7 separate regions of the Homo sapiens genome follow, and regions 2, 3, 4, 5, 6 and 7 are each linked to region 1. The links are contacts of gene promoters, found by promoter capture Hi-C in blood cells and fetal thymus (Javierre and others, 2016). All regions are on one chromosome and are shown on one strand. The core of a region is centred on a gene start or on the middle of the fragment in contact, and the rest is flanking DNA. Distances in the headings are between cores, read along the strand shown. Region 1 holds the start of STT3B (STT3 oligosaccharyltransferase complex catalytic subunit B). Region 2 overlaps TGFBR2 (transforming growth factor beta receptor 2). Region 3 overlaps TGFBR2 (transforming growth factor beta receptor 2). Region 4 overlaps TGFBR2 (transforming growth factor beta receptor 2). Region 5 has its middle 6.8 kb from the start of CMTM7. Region 6 overlaps GADL1 (glutamate decarboxylase like 1). Region 7 overlaps GADL1 (glutamate decarboxylase like 1).

Region 1 (2,641 bases), core at 43-2,542:
ATCACCGTGGTACTGTTTGCTCTTATCCACAAACCTTCCTGCAGACCAATAAAGGAACTAATGCAATGCTTTCAGATACTGTGCATAACACACTAAGGGTGACAGTGGCTAACAGGGTAAGGATCTTGTTCTAAAAAGCAACCCAAGACGATAGTGAAACAGTAAGGTGCTGAGTGCACTTAAGAGCTCTGAAAAAAAGCCACTCTTTAAAATACCTAATGATAAATAAATAAGAGTAGCTAGCTTTCAGATCACTTTCAGGGGTATTATTTCCTTCCCTCCAACACGCCATTCACTCTCCTTTTCCCTTCTCGTATCATGAGAGCATAAAAAGAAACAGTAAAAGCGTAAAACTGCAAGGGTGAGCAGCCGGGGTTCCGGCACATCTGGACCCACCTCCAGCGGCAACAGGGCAGCCCCCCTGGCCGATTCCGTCTGAACTAGCAAAAACGCGCCCGCAAATATGAAAGAACGCGAAAGCAGCGGGCGAGGAGGGCGGGGAATCGACCGACAGTCCGCGGAGGAGCTACCTGCCGCCTCCTGGCGTGGCGGGTCCGGACTCAGCGACCAAAGCGGGCTGCGAGGGACTGCACCCACACTCCCGGCGGCTGCACCCACACTCCCGGCGGCTGCATCCACACTCCTGGCAGTCTTCACACTAGCCCGGCCGAGAATCAAGGTTTCGCTCCTGGACCCCGACGCCCCGCCTCAGGCTGCACGGGGCAAACTTCGCCCACGGGCAGGGGGCGCGCCCGGAGCTCCGGGATCCGCGCCGGCCTCAGCCAGGACGCGAGCGGGGCTCCGCGGCGGCGCGGGGCCAAGTCGAGGAGAGCTGCGGCGGGCGGAGGAGCGGGTCCCGGTTCCCCGCGGGCCACGGGCGGGGGAGGGGCGGCGAGGCACTTACCACGGGTCGAACTCGTGGATGATGCTTTCGAAGCGGATGACGGCGAAGAGGCGCGAGCTGAAGCCGGCAAGCCAGGCCAGGAAGAGGATGGTGAAGGAGAGAAGCGACTGCCACCCAGCCGGCTGCGACAGCCCCCCGGACAGCCCCGCCGGGGCCGGCTTCGGCGGCGCCGCGCCGCCCGCCGCCTTGTGCGCGCACTGGGCCCCGGGCCCGTGGTGGCCGTGCCGGCTGTTTCCCAGGGCCATGAGGCCACTCCACGGGGACGAGTTGAGGGACGACTTGTGCTTGCTCTCCGGGGCCGAGGGCTCCGCCATGTTGTGCCCCGGCGGCGGGTCTAGCTCTCCTCCTCCGCCGCCGCCGCCTGGTGCGAGGGGTGCTGGGCGGGGACCCGGAGGAGGAGGAGGAGGAGGAAGAAAAAGGAGGAGGGAAGAGCTCTGCGCGCTCCCGCCCTCAGCGCCGCGAGGCCGGCGGACTGGGGGTGGAGGAAGCGGCGGCGGGGAGTCTCCGCCTCAGCAGCGGCCGCAATCGCCGCTCTCTCAACCCAGATGGCCCCGGCGCCCCACTAGCCATCCGTATCCCCAGTGCAGCTGCGGCGGCGGCGGCGAAAGCCGACGGGACGAGGGCGCCAGGAAAGAAGCAGCAGACGGAGGCGGCACCACGGCTCTGAGAAGCAATGACATTCCCTCTCTAGCCCGCCGCCCGCCCAGCCGAAAGGAGCAGGGGGAGGAGCCCCCTGGAGTCCGGGCGGAGCTCAAGCAACCTCTGACTCCGCCTCCGGCCCGACAGGAACTGGCCCCTCCGCCTGTCACAAAGCGACAGGTCCGTTAGGGGGCGGGCCCAGAACCGCTGCGCCCACCAATAGGGGCGCGAGCTGGGGCGGAGCTTGACCCAACCGTCTCCCCCTCCCCCCCACCATCCCGGCCTCGCGCCGATTCGCCCGGAGTGGCCGAGCTGCGCGGCTACGGCTTCATTGTCAGTTGAAAGACGCGGTTTCGCGCGCCTGTGCGGTCGGCGAGAAAGGGTACTAGGCGGCTCCGCTAGGTTCATGGAGCTGAGCTGGGCCGAGGGGCGGGAACTGCGGAGCGGCCTCGGTCAAACTCGTCTTAAAGGACGCGGAAAGCGCCGCACCGACCAGCAGGACGCTCGCGGGCTCTCCGCGGTCGTGACTTTTAACCCGCTTTGCGCGGAGCCCTCACCACGTGACGGCCGCGCAGGCGCATTATCCTAGCCCTCGGCGCGTGGGTCGGGCCGAGGGGTTCAGCAGCCCGTGGCGCTCCTCGGCTGGCGCTGCGAGTGAGCCCGCGGCGGCAGTGACACAGCCTACCTTGCTCATTGCCCTTCACGTCCCGCCTCCGGCTTCTGCGGCCGCGGGAATCCGAGAATGTGAGCAAAGACAAGTTTTCCGACACCGAAAACTCGTTGGAACCGGCAAGCGCGCCCCTAGCTCCGGCAGGCAAAATGCGACCTTCTCTCGCCCTTTTTCGTTTGTACTCCGAATTGCGAAAGTACTGTATGTTCACTGGAAATATGGGAAAATGCAGAAATACATTAACGGCTGCATACATTCCGTCGAGTGAGTGAAACTAACTTACCCTGGACGTTAAGCTGTTTCCAGTTCTCACTTTACTAAATAATAATAGAACGAAGGTTCTTGTGCACGTCTACCTTGTATTTTTATAATTCCTTTCCTTTCCCCACTTCCCTCCTTGTCCGCTAAAATAAAGTGCTACCAGATAA
Region 2 (2,641 bases), core at 82-2,581, 900 kb after region 1:
AATGGGCTGTGGAAAAGTCAAGATAGATTCCAGCAGTGATTTTAAGATGGAAAATGAGAACCATGCACACAGTCTTCAAGGTGCAATCTTCCAACATAGTTCTGGAACACAGCTGGCTCCTTCCATCCATGGGGAATGACCACATTTGTGTGCTGAAATAACATTTAGTACTAGAGATAAAACTGGAATAAGTGATCTAAACTTTGAAATGTTTTGAATGACCTTTGGCTACAAAGTCAAATTATAATGCTTTCTATTTCTTAAGACAACTCTTTATGGAAGTTCTAGTATGTACCTAACTTTGGCACCTTAGATTTGCCCCACACTGAATCTTATCTATTAAACCTATCTCATTCTGGGGTGAGAACCCAGATGTGTAAAATCGTATGGCCAGAGGTGACTGAGAAGTGCATTTTGACTATGTTTCATAGTCTTTTATCCATCTTAGCATAATCTTTTTACCAGCACCAGTGGAGTTGTGAACTCGCTCAATTTCTTGTGATGTCCAGTGTAAAAATGTATGCCTATAAATGTAACTCTTAGAAAGAGAAGCAAAAATGAGAAACCATGGGGGAGGAGGGGAGGAAATGACAAGCACAGTCTGTTTTTAGGACACTGTACTTGCTGTTCCCTCCAACTAGAATGCGCTTAACCCAGAGATCTGCCTTCTTCATCCCGATTTCATACCAATTACTGCTCAAATATCACATTATCAAAGATGCCATTCTTGACAACCGCTTCTAAAATTACAAGCATCTACCATTGTTCTCAGACCCTCGCGCTGTACTTATCTGCTGACATGTTGATAGAATCTTGTTTATTAGCTTGTACACATGGACTTTAATTCACTCTGTATTCCCCAAATCTCAAACATTGGCTGGCACACGGTGGTTGGTACTCTATAAACACTTGGTGATGGCTTTCCTATCCCTAAGTCCTCCAAAGCCAAGTTTCATACCTCTTCCTTAAGTTCCAAAGGAAACCTTATCTGCAGAAAATTAATGCATATTTGCTGTTGCTGGATAAAGAATAAGGATATAGTCACAGAGAAAAAAGGACATGTTGAGGCCAGGTATGGAGGGTATAAACAGTTGGTGAAGAGTTTTAAGCTCAAGGCCTAGCCTGTCTAACTTAGCAATAAAAGGAAGTCAGTTCTGAAGTCAAAGAGAGTTCTTCTTTCCCCACTGGGAGGAGCTGGTTCATGAAAGTGGAGGGCCAGAGCCAAGAGAACTCTCCCAAGACACATTGTTCAAAAGTCAAGGGCATAATCTAGATAGAGCTACACAGTAGCCATGAGGACACATGGATTTATAAATTTAAATTAACTAAAGTTAAATGAAATCATACATTCAGTTCCAAGTCAGACCAGCCATTTTCAAGTGCTTAATAGCCACATGTGGCCAGGAATAGACAGGATACTTTCATCATTGCAGAAAGTCCTATAGGACAACACTGATCTAAAGAAATTCAAAAGGACCTGCGTTCCTCGGCTTCTGAGGAGATCTGAAAACGAAGGCCCAGAGGGAAATGGAAGGAGAAGCAGGGCAGAGCTTGAAAAGTAATCGCATTGGAAAGGGCCCTGACTGCTGGCTTGGATGCCTTGTGTAATTAAAGTTCTATCCCAACTTCTTAAGGAATGAGTCTCGTATTAAATGACTGGCTGTCTGTAGTGTCACTGCTGAGGTAGGGAGAGAAGACAATTAGGGACAAGGAGTAGTGTTCCATGGAAAACACGTTAGCTATGAGTGGCAGCAGCAAAAGGTCTCAGAAGTGAGAGAAATGGACCCAACTAGGTTTGCAACAAGCTGAAACCTGTAAAGGCTCATGTCAGCTGGCACAACCTCTCAAAATGCAAATCCCTGAGCCCAAGATAAATGTAAGGCTCGTCTGACTCCTAAGGTATCAAGTAATTCTTATTAAGCCCCATTTCAATGACTGAAACCTAATGCAGAGCCCAGGCACACAGATTAAGTTTCCAGTCAAAGCCCACACAAGCCTAAAGAAAGGAAATTAACATTTTAGAGAAAAAAAAAAAAAAAAAAAAAAAAACCCACAGGCTTTTTCAAAGGCTTTTTTTTTTTTTTGGAGGATTTAAGTCACAGCATGCCAAATAAAGGTGAGTTTCTAGGAGAATACAGCACAGAGGTGACCAAGGTGGGTGAAATTTATTCACAGGGGAAAATCCAAATGCCTTCAGGGAAACCACTTTTGCAGGGTTCTTCTGATAAATACTGAACCCAATTAAAAGCATCCCTTCAGGGCAAGTTTTCTCCTAGGAGATTTCTATTGGCCGCTTTAACTTCCCTTTCCCCAGAATTTCCAGGAGAAGTTTGTAACGGTTTATAATCCCTACCACTCCATGCTCATAGACTTTAAGCATATTTTTCTCCCACAAGGCAGTACTATTTTTATAATCCTTTTAAGATTAAAACTAAAAACACAGATGATTAAAAAAAAAAAAAAAAGGCCTGGCTGCATCCTCCTACAATAAAGTATTATAATTGCAGTGCACTACTAAGTAGTATTTCCACAAACATTAGACTATCTGGTTTCCAGGACAAAGAAACAGCCTATAATTCCAAAGCACAGGAATGGAAAAGTACAAGTAATTTAATCTGTCCCACTGTGATTATAGGTGCTA
Region 3 (2,641 bases), core at 48-2,547, 880 kb after region 1:
GGGAGGCCAAGGCAGGTTATTCACCTGAGGTCAGGAGTTCGAGACCAGACTGACGAACATGGTGAAACTCGTCTCTACTAAAAATACAAAGATTAGCTGGGTATGGTGGCACACTCCTGCAGTCCCACCTACTCAGGAGGCTGAGGCAGGAGGATCACTTGAACCTGGGAGGCAGAGGTTGCAGTGAGCCAAGATCGTGCCATTGCACTCCAGCCTGGGCGACAGAGTGAGACTCCGTCAAAAAAAAAAAAAAAAAAAAAACAACCAGAAAAGAAAACGAGAGAAATGGACCATTTACAGGATGAGGATGAGAACATAGGAAGGAAGAGTAATCTGGAAAGCGTTGCCCTGACAAGATGTGCATGCCTGCCTTCAGTTCACTGAGAAGTTGGCCTGGGGGATGTTGGACAGGAAGATAGGGAGAATGGCAGTAGGTGAAGGACACAGGAAGAGAACAAGCTGGATCTGCAGTGCTACTGAGCACCAAACACGAAACACGAGGACACATAGCTTCTCGCAGGTGGAATGCACATGGCCGCAGAGATAGGGTGTAGAGCCAGCATTTGTATTTCAAAAAGATTTTTTAATTAAATCAGACCTATTGTTGACTAAACTAACATTTACACTACCACGCTGGTAAAATTAAAAGACTTATCCATTCCCAGTGTTGGAGAAGGTACACGGAAATCCATATGCTTACATCCTTTTCAGGAGGAGAATAGTTTAGTAGTGCTTATTCAAATTTAAAATACACATATTTCTAATCTAGAAATTTCACTTCTGGCAATCTGCCTTGCAGAAATATTAGCACAAATGCATGAGATATTTTTACAAAGATATTCAATGTAGCATTAAGTGGAAAAACTGAAGACAATCCATCAACAGGGACATGATAAGATCCATCGTGGGAGATAATATGAAATTCGAGACTAAATTAAAAGATGTACAGTATATCTATGTGTTCTATCTTGTTTAGAAGGAATTGTAAAAGTGGTTGGGTATAAAAAAGTGTTGCAAAATAATATTTATAGTATGATCAGATAGTTGTACTGAAAGATGGATGAGTGGATGGAAGGATGGACAGATGGATGAAAGGAGGGAAAGAGAAAGGAAGACAGGGAGAGATTGGGAGAGAGGATGGAGTGGGAGATAATATGAATGAATGATAGAGACGTGTGTGCATCTAATACATTGTCAATACAGATGATCTGTTGCATTGGGAGTGAGGGGAGGACGAAAATGTACTTTCATTTTTAATTTTCACACACTGTTGGATTGTTTGAAATTTTTGATGACGAGCATATACTACTTTTGTAATTAAAAACCACTGAATTCTCTTCTTATTAAAAATTGAGGGAATAGTGTATGCCTTCCTTTCAAGCTGAGTAAACGCTGAACTTCAAAGATGGAGGCTAGTATCTAATCTACTCTTCTCCTGGCTCTAGGGGTAAACTTTGGCTTATTATTTCCTCTCTGTATTGCAATGTTTCTCTCAAATGGGATCGATGACAAGTACCCTAAAGACAAATCCTGGGACTATGTACAAGAAACAACATCAGTTATAAAGAAAGTCCTCCTCCAAGATTAAACAACCCCATCCAAATCTTTAGAACAATAGTTACCAAATTTTAGCTGCACAGAATTACTGGGAGGGCTTGTTAAAATACAGATAGCTGGGGTTCACCCTCTATGTTTCTCATTTAGTGGGGCCTGAGAATCTGCATTTATAACAGGTTCCCAGGTGATACTGATGCTGGCTGCTCAAGAGGCCGCACTTTGAGAAACACTGCTCTAGGTGAAAGAAACTATTTGTCAAAGACAAATAATAATGTTTGCCCCAGTCAACCATATTTGATGAGAACCAGAACAAACCCTGCTACTCCCCAAGCCCCTCTTTCCACCAGCTGAATGAGCTCCTAATCCACTGTATGCAATCCACCACAGGAGGAATGTGCTCTATGACACTGCAGACCAAGGATACAAAAAATTGGCACAGATCTCAGGTCCCACACCCTTAAGAGAAGAAAACTCACCTTCTGAGAAGATGATGTTGTCATTGCACTCATCAGAGCTACAGGAACACATGAAGAAAGTCTCACCAGGCTTTTTTTTTTCCTTCATAATGCACTTTGGAGAAGCAGCATCTTCCAGAATAAAGTCATGGTAGGGGAGCTTGGGGTCATGGCAAACTGTCTCTAGTGTTATGTTCTCGTCATTCTTTCTCCTAGAGTGAAGAGATTCATTGGAAGCGAGGGGAGAGGGAGAGAGAGAAAGAGAATAAATGAATAATATGGCCTCCAGACAGAAAGGCAATCTGGAATACTTTTCCTTCATGAAGTTGTTCCTAACAACGGCAGCTGGTTCCTGTTCTCCAGCATTCGCAGGCTGTCCTATAGTCTCCTATGCTTTTCTACTCTTTTCTGTTTTTCCTTTGTTTATTCTTGGAACCCATTTGTGATTATAAACATCACCTGGAGCAGACAGCGTTCCACGGGGCAGTCCTGGTGGAGAACTTTACATATTTAAGTCTTAATTAAATCATTAAAGGGGAAGACATGGAAAAAAAGAACATTCCTAGGTACTCAGGATAATTTTAAATCTTCCATCCTGAATGTAATGCAAACCTCACATCACACCCCTA
Region 4 (2,641 bases), core at 97-2,596, 860 kb after region 1:
AAAGAGTGCTATGTTAAGGAGAAAGAATATATGATCTACTTAAGGAAGAGCAATTATCCCATACTGACCACTCTGCACCTGCGGAATAGAAAGGAAAAAAATGGGTAGGTGGTATGGAACCAAACTCCGTGTCAGAAAAGGATCTTTTGATTATTCATTTGTCAGTTTTCACCTACAGTAGGTGTTTAAAGAGAAAAAAAAAAGTGATGAGAATATAGTCCAGGTAGAATGAGGATATAACCAAATTCTCTCAAGGGGAACCCATTACCTAAATGATACTGATAAAGGAGTTAAGAAGAAATTACTTGGGCAGATAGTAAGGGTATGGAAGTCCTCGGTAAGGTGTTTCTTTTTAATGAAAAGCAGCCCCAAATCATTTTCTAACAAAGAGCAGCCTGTAAAGTTGAGCTTCAGACATAGACAGGCAAGCTGGGAGCTTGCACGGGTGAATGCCAGCAGGAACTAAGGACATGTTCAAGATGGCAGCTCCATCTTCCCTTCTCTTTGTCAGCCATGTGTACAACAAAGAACAGACCAGATGGTGCTGATCAACTGGAAAGCCCATTTGCATAATAAGATTAGGGTGGGGTGACCAGTCTTCCCCATGCACTATGTAAACGTCATACCTGATTGAACCAATCTGTGAGCCCTATGTAAATCAGACACCGCCTCTTCAAACGGGACTATAAAATCCAGCACATTCACCACTGGCCCGTCCTTTCCGCTTGGAGACTCCTTTCTCTACAGAGAGAATTGTTTCTCTTTCTCTTCTCTTCTGCCTATTAAACCTCCACTCCTAAACTCCTCATGTGTGTTCATATCCTAAATTTTCCTGGCTCATGATGATGAACCCCAGGTTATATACCCCAGTCTACATAGCTACTTCAGCATCTGATACTTTCTTTTTTTTTTCTCGAGATGGAGTCTTGCTCTGTTACCCAGGCAGCAGTGCAATGGCACGATCTCTGCTCACTGCAACCTTGCCTCCTGGGTTCAAGCCATTCTCCTGCCTTAGCCTCTATGCCCAGCTTTTTTTTTTTTTTTTTTTTTTTTTTTTTTTGTATTTTTAGTGGAGACGGGGTTTCACCATGTTGGCCAGGCTGGTCTTGAACTCCTGACCTTGTGATCTGCCCGCCTTGGCCTCCAAAAGTGCTGGGATTACAGGCGTGAGCCACTGCGCTTGGCCCAGCATCTGAAACTTTCATCTAACGAAACAGTGAGAAATGAAGCTGGTACATATCCATTTTTAAGGTTTATGTGTAATATGATTACTTGTTCTTAAGGTAAGTCTGAGTGGAAATGCCAACTTCCACTGACTATATATTCTAGATGAAAATCTTGGGTCTAGTAACCAGAGAAGTAACCCCAAGATATCAGAATTCCAGCAACCAAGAGGGAAAAAAAAAATCACCATTTTTTGGAAAGATATATGAATGCATTTTAAAAGTATAGGGAAAGTGAGAAAATTTGGTGATTGATCCTTAAAAACATAAATTCTTACACTGGGAGGCTTGGATTGGGACAAAGAACAGGCAAGAGTAGGGCAGAAATGGGGTGGGACAAAGCAATTACAGAATGATTGAATGCAAAAGAAAAAAAAGATGCTCTTGTGGAGATGTATGGACTGTCCCTGTTGTACAGCAAACAAAATTAAGGGGGCAGATGAACACAACACAAATTCAAACACAACAGCCGATCCAGCAGTCGGCATTTCCACTTAGGCTTACCACTTCCACAATGCTCCCTGCCTGAAACTCCACCTCTATTATATGTGGTATCCAATGAATGTGTTTGCTTGAAGTACCCACTTGTCTCCGGTCTCTGTGTCTGTAACTACATGGAATGTCTTATAATCAGAAATCCACTTGATTATCTGATTGCTTCTCTCCTGACAAAGCAGGGTAGTGGCCAGGTCTGTTTTGATCATCATGATATACACAGCACCTGGGGCAGAATGGGGCAATTTATGGTATTCAACAAACGTTTGTTTTAGAAGCTGAATGATTACTTACGTGGAATGATACTTCTCAAATTTTTTATATTTTACAGCAAGGTTTGACAAACTATGGCTCAGAAGTCCATGGCCTGCTTTTGTATAGTCCTATGACCTAAGAATGATTTCCATCCCCATTTTTAAAGAGTTGTTTAAAAAACAATAAAACTAAGAGGTTCATGCAACAGAGATCTTATCTGGCCCAGAAAGCCTAAAATATTTACTATCTGGCCCTTCACAGAAAAACTTTGCTGACCCCTGTTCTAGAGGTGTTATTTTAATAACCTCATTGGCAGAATCTGGAGAGACTTCACTTTGGCCAAATGTGAATATGTAGTCAATTTTTTTTCACATATGAGAAATACAATTTGAAAAAATTTAAATATTAACTGCATAATTACTTAGCTTTGTCCTTAATTCACTAAAACGTCCAGATGAAATGTTGATTCATCATGGATAATTTTATTTTACAATTCCTAAATATCTATAAAAACAGTCGTATTTGCTAATTTCAATTCCTTTTTAGCCTAAAGGAAACACAAAAACAGAAATCCCCTTAAGTTTATGTGTGGCACTGACTGAAGAAGATTCTAGAAATCCCCAGTTCAATGTCAGAAACCAAAGTTTTACTTTCTCCTAAAATTTCCT
Region 5 (2,641 bases), core at 83-2,582, 850 kb before region 1:
TTCATGCCATTCTCCTGCCTCAGCCTCCTGAGTAGCTGGGACTACAGGCACCCGACACCATGCCCAGCTAATTTTTTGAATTTTTAGTAGAGACGGGGTTTCACCGTGTTAGCCAGGATGGTCTCAATCTCCTGACCTTGTGATCCGTCCGCCTCGGCCTCCCAAAGTGCTGGGATTACAGGTGTGAGCCACCGCGCCTGGCCTCCAGTGAATTTTTAAAAAGTTTATTAGGTTCCGTAAACCAGTCAAACTCTCAGGTCCTTCTGAGAATCACCAATCAGCTGCCTTATATCCATTGGAAATTTATTGCATCAGGCTGGCTCCTGAGCCAAGGGCAGCCCATCAGTGGGTTGGCCAGTAGTGTTTGGAGTGGCCTTATAAGGGAACTTTGCCTAGTAAGAGTGGGAGCTCCACTGATGATCCTCTGTCCTGCGGAGTTTGAATGTGAGGCATTGAGAGGGGTTTAGCAATTGGGACATAGAGAGAAGGTGGAAGCCAGGAGGCTGGTTGGGCCATGAGAGGAAATAAGGAGAGGCAGAGCAGAAGAGAGTGGCTGAGGCCCAGCAGAGGGAGAGCGGCATGTACTCACCACAGCGGGGCCAGCCAGGATACCTGGTCTTTAGCGCCAGGTGGGACCCTGAAACCTTTGTCTTTGTGCTGCCTGGCTGTGTGGCTGAGAGGCAGGACTCTGGAACCAAACTGCCTGGGTTTGGCCCTTAGTTCCATCACTTGCTAGATGTGCAACCTTGGGCAAGCCTCTCTCAGCCTCCATTTCCTTCTCTGTAAAGAGGAACAACAATAGAAATGACCCCTCAGGGTAACTGCGAGATCTAAATGGGATAAGACATATGGAAACGGTCTAGAGTAGCATCTGGCTCATAGTAGTAAATGTTACCTATTTTATCATTTTTCCTAAGTCCTTATGTATCGAACAATGAGGCTTCATTATCTGAGGGCTGAGGGACTCCTGTACGTTGCCATTTCCATAACCATAAGCATCAAAGACCATCTTCAAGGGTGAAATAAAAGATTTCTTGGATTTAGGTAATCCAAGGAATTTTGAGAGCTGCTGGGGAAAAGTTTTACTGAGAGAGGAAGGGAGGAGAGGAGGATTCACCTTGTTATTTGCTCACAACCCTCACTCAGCAAATGTTACGGAGAGCCTTCCACATGCCTGACTGAACACTTCCCAGAAGAGGAACTCCCTCCCCCAGGGAGTTTGTAACCATAGCAACACAGGGAAATAGAGTCAGATAACCGAGGAGGCTGTGGTCGTCATCTCTGTCATCTCTGTTGGGAGGAGTCGAGGTCTGGGTTAGACGGCTCCCTGTTTGTGTCCAGTATTTAGCAGAGTGCCTGGCCCAAAGTAGTACTCAGTTTATATTTGTGGGATTAATGCAGAGCTGTAGCATCCCTGTAAGGGATGGCCCAAAGCTGGGAGTAACCAGCTTGTCTTGAACTGGGAGGAGAAAGTTTCAAAAAAGAATATGTGCTTGGAACTAGGTCTTGAAGGGCGATTAAAAATTTATGGGGTGGGCAAAAGAGGGAATGACATATGTCAAGAAAGGAGGCATGAAACCGCACCACGGATTCCAGGAATTCCCAGTCCTTTGGCGTGGCTGGAGTGTGGGGACTTGGGGAAAAGGGCTGGGGACCTTGGCTGGAGAGATACCACAGGACTGTGGATGCCCACCTTAGGATTTGTGCTTTATGTAGACAATGAACACTGTGAGGATCAAAGGGGTTAAGATATGTCAAATGCTGAGAACTGTTGCTGACAGTAAGATGATGAGTATGATGATGATAATGAGATCTCTTTTTTATCTTTCCTTAGCCCATGCTGTCATTTGCAATCACCTGTGAAACCTATGAAAACTATACCTGCCCAGGCTCAGCCTTGGAGATTCTGATTCAGTGTGCTCAGGCGGGGCTGGACATCCATGTTTGGGAAGAGTTGCGCGGGTGATTTCGATGCGTATATGACCCTGGTTGAAAACTGCTAACCTGGCAAATGCCCGCCAGTCTCACAAAGTCCAGCCAAAATGTTACGGCCTCTGAGAAGCCTTCTGTGAGTGATGAGCAATCCCCATGGCAATATTTATTGAGCACTGACAAAGTGCCAGGACCTGTGTCAGGCACAGGAGTACATGTTCTTTGCCCAGACTGAGAAAACAGGCAATATGTATGAAAAATGCTAATGATAGAATAAAAGTGGGGTACTATGGGAGCCCATGGGGAGATACCTTACCCTGTCAGGGATGTGATGGGGAAGTCAGGGAAGGCTTCCTGGAGGAGGGGCCATCTTAGCTGCATACTGAAGGATAAAGAGGTGTTAACCAGCCTTGGGTGGGTGGAGAAGAGAGTTCCAGGTAAGTACTCGGGCATGACAGATTAGAGGGGATGAAGTTCATGCAGGCTTAAGCATGAGGTCCAAAGAAGTGGGAGATGCTACATGAGGCTAGATAGGTGGCAAGACAATATGGCAAATGTGGGTGAGTTACCTGACTCCTGTATGTGCACCCAGCCCTTTGCCCACACTGGAAGTGTGTGACATATCTCACTTTAGTTGACTCTTTTGAGACTGGGAGCTCATAGAAAGAAGTCATGTGTGGAAACTCGGCAGTCAGGGTCATGCTGCCTT
Region 6 (2,641 bases), core at 106-2,605, 770 kb after region 1:
TTTCTCTAGAAACATGACTTATTGACAATACTGTGAAACAATCACAAAACTTTAGTGATATGAGACAATAAGCATTTATCACTCATGAATCTGCAGGTAAAAAGGAGATATTAGGTAGCTAATTTAGGCTGGACTTGGCTGGCAGTGGCTGTGGCTCCGTGAATCTTTCTTCAACTTACTGAGGCATGTTCTTATGAGTGACAGAGGCATAGAGCACAAGTCCACCTGCATAAGAGCATTTTGTGAGTCTGTTATATCTGCCGACATTAGCTTGGCCATAGTGAATCTCATAACTAAGCCCAACCTTAAAAGATATTGGAGACTATGCTACAGTTAGCCAAATCCAGCCATATGCACAAACCCAGTGGCAGTCGAGCAGGGAAATGTTACTTCTAAGGAAGTGAAGTAGTGAGGATACATATGCGTATTTCTGAAGAACCTAATCTACCACAAATAAAGATGGTCACTTTTAAAAAACAGGTTTAGGCATAGTTCAGCAATGTACAAAATGTGGAATAAAACCTAGTGACAATTCAAAATTAGGCTTTAGCTTACCACAGTGTTACTGTGGGAACGTGTCTCAGTTCAATTCAGCAAATGCTTTGTGCCAAGCACTATGGGAAATATCAAAGGTGAAAATGACATAGCACCTTCCATCAAGCTTTCAACTTGAGGAAAAGATAAATGTTTCTAAGAGTTACTGTAATAAAATGTCCAGTGTAACAAGAATTATGAGCAGGAACAAGTACTGGAGGTACAGAAAGAAGGGCAAGAGCTCCTCTTAGCTATTGTTTAGAAATCAAGTGCAGGGAGTAGAATATACTCTGGCTAATTTTGGAAGAAAAAGATTTATAGATAATTAAAGATTTACATAATCATTGTGAGAGCTAAAGAGACAGATGTCTAAGTCCTACCCTAGAACTGGGCTGCCCAGGGAGCTGCTGCTTCTGCTCCAATCTGCAGAGGCCTGTCGAATTGTGGATTTGCCTTACGAGATGCCAGCACTAAATCCAACCAGCTCCATCGTGATCTGCACTGGAAAAAAAACGGATTTTTAATCATTATGACTCTTCTCCCACCTAACTCAAGTTTGAAATTATGTGCAGGTATGTCTGGCTGGCTCACTTTAAATTACATCAGACTAACTGCAAGAGAGTTTTGGAAATGTGTAAGCCTCTGCAATATAGGAAGGGACTTTAGAAGGAGATCAAATGTTGACTCAAATCCCCTATATATTCCACTGGAAGCTCAGGGAAGACTATCAAAAGGGCGACACTTGTACCAGCTTTTACAAAGTGCTGCCTAATGGCAAGGATGGCATAGGATTCTGTTTATGAAAGTACTTCATTATGAGGCAATAAATAAATACTTGCTTTATGGAAATACAATGGAGTCCTCTTGAATGGAGTCACCATGAAAACCTTTATCTCAGTGATAAGAATCCAGGAATAGTTTTTACTCTCTTCTTCCACCAAGTTGATATATTCGTAGAAGGTCCACATTTATATTTAAGCATTTACCATGTTATCTTATACTGTGCTAAGCCCATTACATATATGATCTCATTTAGAGTCCTCTCAACCACCCTCTATGAGGTAGTTACCATCTCATGTTTTTTTGTCAGTTACTCAGAGCCAGTCTGATTCTAAAGTTCTCAAGCACAATCATTGTGGTTCTTCCTGAGAAGAGGGGAAGACGGGAAAGATAAAAGGCAATACGGAGCAAAGTGTAGGAAATGGAGATCTGACGGAAGGAAGAGCTGGAGGGAGGCTGCAAAGAATAGCCCAGAGAAAACTCATCAGCTAAGGAGGGGCTCTTTCAGAGAGTGGAGTGCTCCACCAAGCTGTCAAAGGTGTTCACTAAGAATACATACTTGGTGCATGCAACTGTATGTGGATAGTACTTGGCAGATAGGAATGTACTACAAAGGCAAAGAATGTTGAGTAAAGCCAAGGCATGATGTTTGATGGTTGGAGAGAGTAGTTTGGTATCATCCAGATTTGGTTTTGCTCTTGGCTGTGCAGGAAACTATGAAAGCTATGAAGCTTTTGGGGCAAGCTGCTGCATCTTGAGAAGTTTCGTCTATAAAATTAGTTTAATACTTAACTCATGGAATTGAGAAAACAAATTTGGATTAATGAATAAACACCATGGTACTCAGCACATGGTAACATGCTCAATAAGTGTTATCTGCATTTATTGGTACTGGGTAACTGACCCATCTTAAGCTCAGATATTCCTTTTGATTTTGCTGAACTGCTGATAATCTGAGCAGCTTTGCTATTAGTGTATTCTGGTAAGAGAAGAGGGAAGTCTTGGGATCCAGAAGATACGGACTAGAACTGTTTAAACAGGGGAGGGGACTACATTTGTAGGAGTTGTAGAACTCCTTCAAATTCTTGTGATTTTGTGAATCTGATCTACTAATCCCAAGAACTATTTGGATGATTGGAATTCTAGGTCCTTCTGTGTTTACTCATTCTCTGTGGGGGGGTTATGTGCCCTAGAAAATAAACAGCAAACTTAAAGCAGAAATCCACTAATCCATGGGCCTGTAATCATCCTCAATATTTACTAATAGCATTACATTAGCTTTAAGGCTGTACACAGCCAGAGTTCTGTGAGCAAGGATATACCTGCT
Region 7 (2,641 bases), core at 82-2,581, 760 kb after region 1:
AAAACAGACTGGCAGGGAAGATAACTGGGTTATGATTACTTAGTGTAGATGAGAGTTTCTGATAGAACATAAACTGCCCGCTTCAGAATCACTTGACATGCTTCATAAAATGCCAATTCTTTAGCCTTTTCTAGGATGGACTTAGACATTGGACATTTTGAACATAGGAACCTGAGTTCCTATGAGAATCTACATTTTGAATAGGTCCCCTAGCTAATTCGCACTTTTACTGATATTCGAGAGCCGGGAGTCAAGGTGATGTTCTTTTTTCAAAAGCAGTATTGGCTAGGGTCATAGTAGTGCTGGTTAGTGAAGCCCAAGCAGGTCACGCTGTTATCATCTCACAGGTAATCAAAGCTTTTGCATTTGCCAGGTGTAGGGGCCAACTTTGGCTGCCTTAAGAAGAATTATTGGAAGCCTATGATGGTATAGCAAATAACTTAAGGATCAGTGTTGGAGAGAGAGGATCCAGGGCATCTCTGAGCATGTATGTAAGCAGGCACTAACTGACGATCAGAGCTGGGTTGAGTCAGCTTCAAACTTTACTGTTTTTTCCTGATCTTTGCACATTTAAGATGAAAGAGAACCTGCTAGGTGCACGCTATGGAGTAGAAAATTTTTAAATAGGATGTTATCAAGAAGGCAGAAGGGATTGTTACTCTATAAGATTCTGATGTTAAAATTTTATACACATGATAACTCTTGAAGAAACTAGCTAAGAGTTTTAAAAGTATTTCATTGCATTCTAAGATAAATCTTAAGATAACAACTTTATATTTTTTCTAATTCTCAGCCTGAATATGCCAATATTTGCTTTTGGTACATTCCACCGAGCCTCAGAGAGATGGAAGAAGGACCCGAGTTCTGGGCAAAACTTAATTTGGTAAGTAATAAGTAAATGGTATTTTTCTTTTTGATGAAGTAGATTCAGTGTACATTATCTGTTGATCCTATAAATAAGAGGGCCTAGCAAGCACAGAATTATCTAGAGAAGTGTCTTCTAGTTTGTTAAAAAGTAATGACAGGCCAAACAGTTGTAGACATTGTTTACATTTAACAAATTAACATGGTTGACACACACCCAAAACAATTAGGTTGTCTGTAAGGTAGAAGTTCTGGCTCACAGTGTACTTCAGGAAGTGACATCTGGTCATGGGACACAAGGTTAAAGTTGTGTGATGAATGACTATTTATTTCAACTCTGCTACTGCATCTCTGACTGTTGTACCACCTTACTTGGAAATAATGTTAGAAGTCTAAATCTGATACTTTTTGTAAGCGTGAGACTGTCTTCAACAAAGGCCCTATGTCTTACACCCAAGGGGATTACATAAAAGAAAAGAGATGCTAAGCAGTGGGTTTCAGCTGATCATCGAACAAAATGTGCTTGGAAGTGTCTTCACACACAGCTGTTGGGGCTGATGATACCGTGTGAGGAGAGGCCCCAGGCTCCAGGGACTGCTTGTGTCTCATCTACTCCTCGCCTAGCATGGCCCTGCCAGTTATAATCCTGCCTCTAATCCAGATTTCCAAGCACTATGGAGTCTCGTGAGTAACACTACTTGATCCCACTTTCTGGATGCATGAACATAATGCATACTGAAAGTGAACCCATGGGAGTTTCACTGGGGATTATGTGGCCATGACATGTAGAGTCCAAGTTCTTATGGGCTAGCACCATTAAAATCAGGCAATTCCCTACCTCTTGAGTGGGATCAAGTCAGCACAGCTGACTTTATGACCCTGGTTAGTAAAAGCTCTGACTTGCAAACCCCTCTCCTTACCCTCAGGGGGAAAACGTTTTTTTTTTAAAAGCAATTTTCATTGTCCATAGCCTATTTTCCCCTTAGAAGACAAAAAACAAAAGACTCCCTACTCAGGTAAGCAACAAACATTTGCTGAGTGTCCACTATACTATGCACTGGAAATACAAACATCAAAAGGACGTGTCTCTGCCCTTGAGAAACTCAATATTCCTAGAGACAATGAGTAAAGAGACAATCACAAGGTAACCAAGAAGTACCTGAATGGAGATTAACTGTTTGCAGTGAAAGTAGAGAGAAAGGGTATCTACCCCAATGTGTGATACTAGAGCTGAGTTTTTAACAATAAGCAGATGTCAGTCAGGGGACAATTTTAAAGAAGCAGATTCCAGGAAGAATCACAGCATGAGAACTCAGAGGCTCAAGAGGGGAGAATGTGATTCAAAGACCACAGGGGTGCAAAGAAGCAGTGATGGGAGGTGAGAAGAGTAACAGGCAGAGGGAGGGTCATGGGAGCCTTGCCTTCCACGGCAGAAAGCTTGGGATTTTTGCCCCAGTCTAACTAGAAGGAAGAGGGCAGAACATAGCCTTTAAGTCATGGTCACTGATTGCCTCACTTGGCAGCGTGTCCTTTTAGCTTCAGGTCATTTTCTGTTTATTCATGGCTCAAACCTCCTAACCTGTAACATAATAGATGACCAATACAGAATACACCTCTTATCAAACCCTCTCAGGGAGCAAAGATGTGGAGAGATGGATGGTGTTATATCTGTGCCCTTATCCATTTCAGGCAGGTAGCATAGACTTTGGGGATTTGTCTTGTATTTGTCACACACAAAATAGCAAAGTGCTTAAGAATACATTTCAGATGTTAAGTA

Evidence for each region. The method cuts DNA at HindIII sites, captures the fragments that hold promoters and counts their contacts. A CHiCAGO score of 5 or more calls a contact.
Region 2: a fragment that was not itself captured here is called in contact with the fragment with the promoter of STT3B in region 1 in 1 of 17 cell types (neutrophils); the score reaches 8.1 in neutrophils.
Region 3: a fragment that was not itself captured here is called in contact with the fragment with the promoter of STT3B in region 1 in 2 of 17 cell types (neutrophils and fetal thymus); the score reaches 5.1 in neutrophils.
Region 4: a fragment that was not itself captured here is called in contact with the fragment with the promoter of STT3B in region 1 in 3 of 17 cell types (neutrophils, erythroblasts and fetal thymus); the score reaches 7.8 in neutrophils.
Region 5: a fragment that was not itself captured here is called in contact with the fragment with the promoter of STT3B in region 1 in 1 of 17 cell types (neutrophils); the score reaches 5.6 in neutrophils.
Region 6: a contact is called between a fragment that was not itself captured here and the fragment with the promoter of STT3B in region 1, in 1 of 17 cell types (monocytes). The highest score is 5.5, in monocytes.
Region 7: a fragment that was not itself captured here is called in contact with the fragment with the promoter of STT3B in region 1 in 2 of 17 cell types (M2 macrophages and M1 macrophages); the score reaches 5.5 in M2 macrophages.

The regions. Positions count from the first base shown.
Region 1 is chr3:31,531,576-31,534,216 of GRCh38, reverse strand. It overlaps STT3B (STT3 oligosaccharyltransferase complex catalytic subunit B), which reads right to left and starts at 1,292. Exons shown (of 16, transcript NM_178862.3): 1 at 905-1,292. The coding sequence starts at 1,218. RefSeq lists enhancers at 560-619, 1,470-1,609 and silencers at 780-929, 1,010-1,139, 1,170-1,399, 1,710-1,969. The HindIII fragment of the contact is 5,534 bases long and covers 1-2,641 here.
Region 2 is chr3:30,627,937-30,630,577 of GRCh38, reverse strand. The region is part of intron 1 of TGFBR2 (transforming growth factor beta receptor 2); the gene reads right to left. Among named protein-coding and RNA genes, the nearest start is that of TGFBR2, 23 kb to the right of the region's middle. The HindIII fragment of the contact is 7,422 bases long and covers 1-2,641 here.
Region 3 is chr3:30,649,853-30,652,493 of GRCh38, reverse strand. TGFBR2 (transforming growth factor beta receptor 2) reads right to left here. Exons shown (of 7, transcript NM_003242.6): 3 at 2,034-2,224. Among named protein-coding and RNA genes, the nearest start is that of TGFBR2, 45 kb to the right of the region's middle. The HindIII fragment of the contact is 8,920 bases long and covers 1-2,641 here.
Region 4 is chr3:30,667,541-30,670,181 of GRCh38, reverse strand. All of the region lies in intron 3 of TGFBR2 (transforming growth factor beta receptor 2), which reads right to left. Among named protein-coding and RNA genes, the nearest start is that of TGFBR2, 62 kb to the right of the region's middle. The HindIII fragment of the contact is 2,853 bases long and covers 1-2,641 here.
Region 5 is chr3:32,383,743-32,386,383 of GRCh38, reverse strand. No RefSeq gene overlaps it. Among named protein-coding and RNA genes, the nearest start is that of CMTM7, 6.8 kb to the left of the region's middle. The HindIII fragment of the contact is 6,743 bases long and covers 1-2,641 here.
Region 6 is chr3:30,757,479-30,760,119 of GRCh38, reverse strand. All of the region lies in intron 14 of GADL1 (glutamate decarboxylase like 1), which reads left to right. Among named protein-coding and RNA genes, the nearest start is that of GADL1, 140 kb to the left of the region's middle. The HindIII fragment of the contact is 1,384 bases long and covers 664-2,047 here.
Region 7 is chr3:30,776,421-30,779,061 of GRCh38, reverse strand. GADL1 (glutamate decarboxylase like 1) reads left to right here. Exons shown (of 15, transcript NM_207359.3): 14 at 794-883. Among named protein-coding and RNA genes, the nearest start is that of GADL1, 120 kb to the left of the region's middle. The HindIII fragment of the contact is 1,944 bases long and covers 360-2,303 here.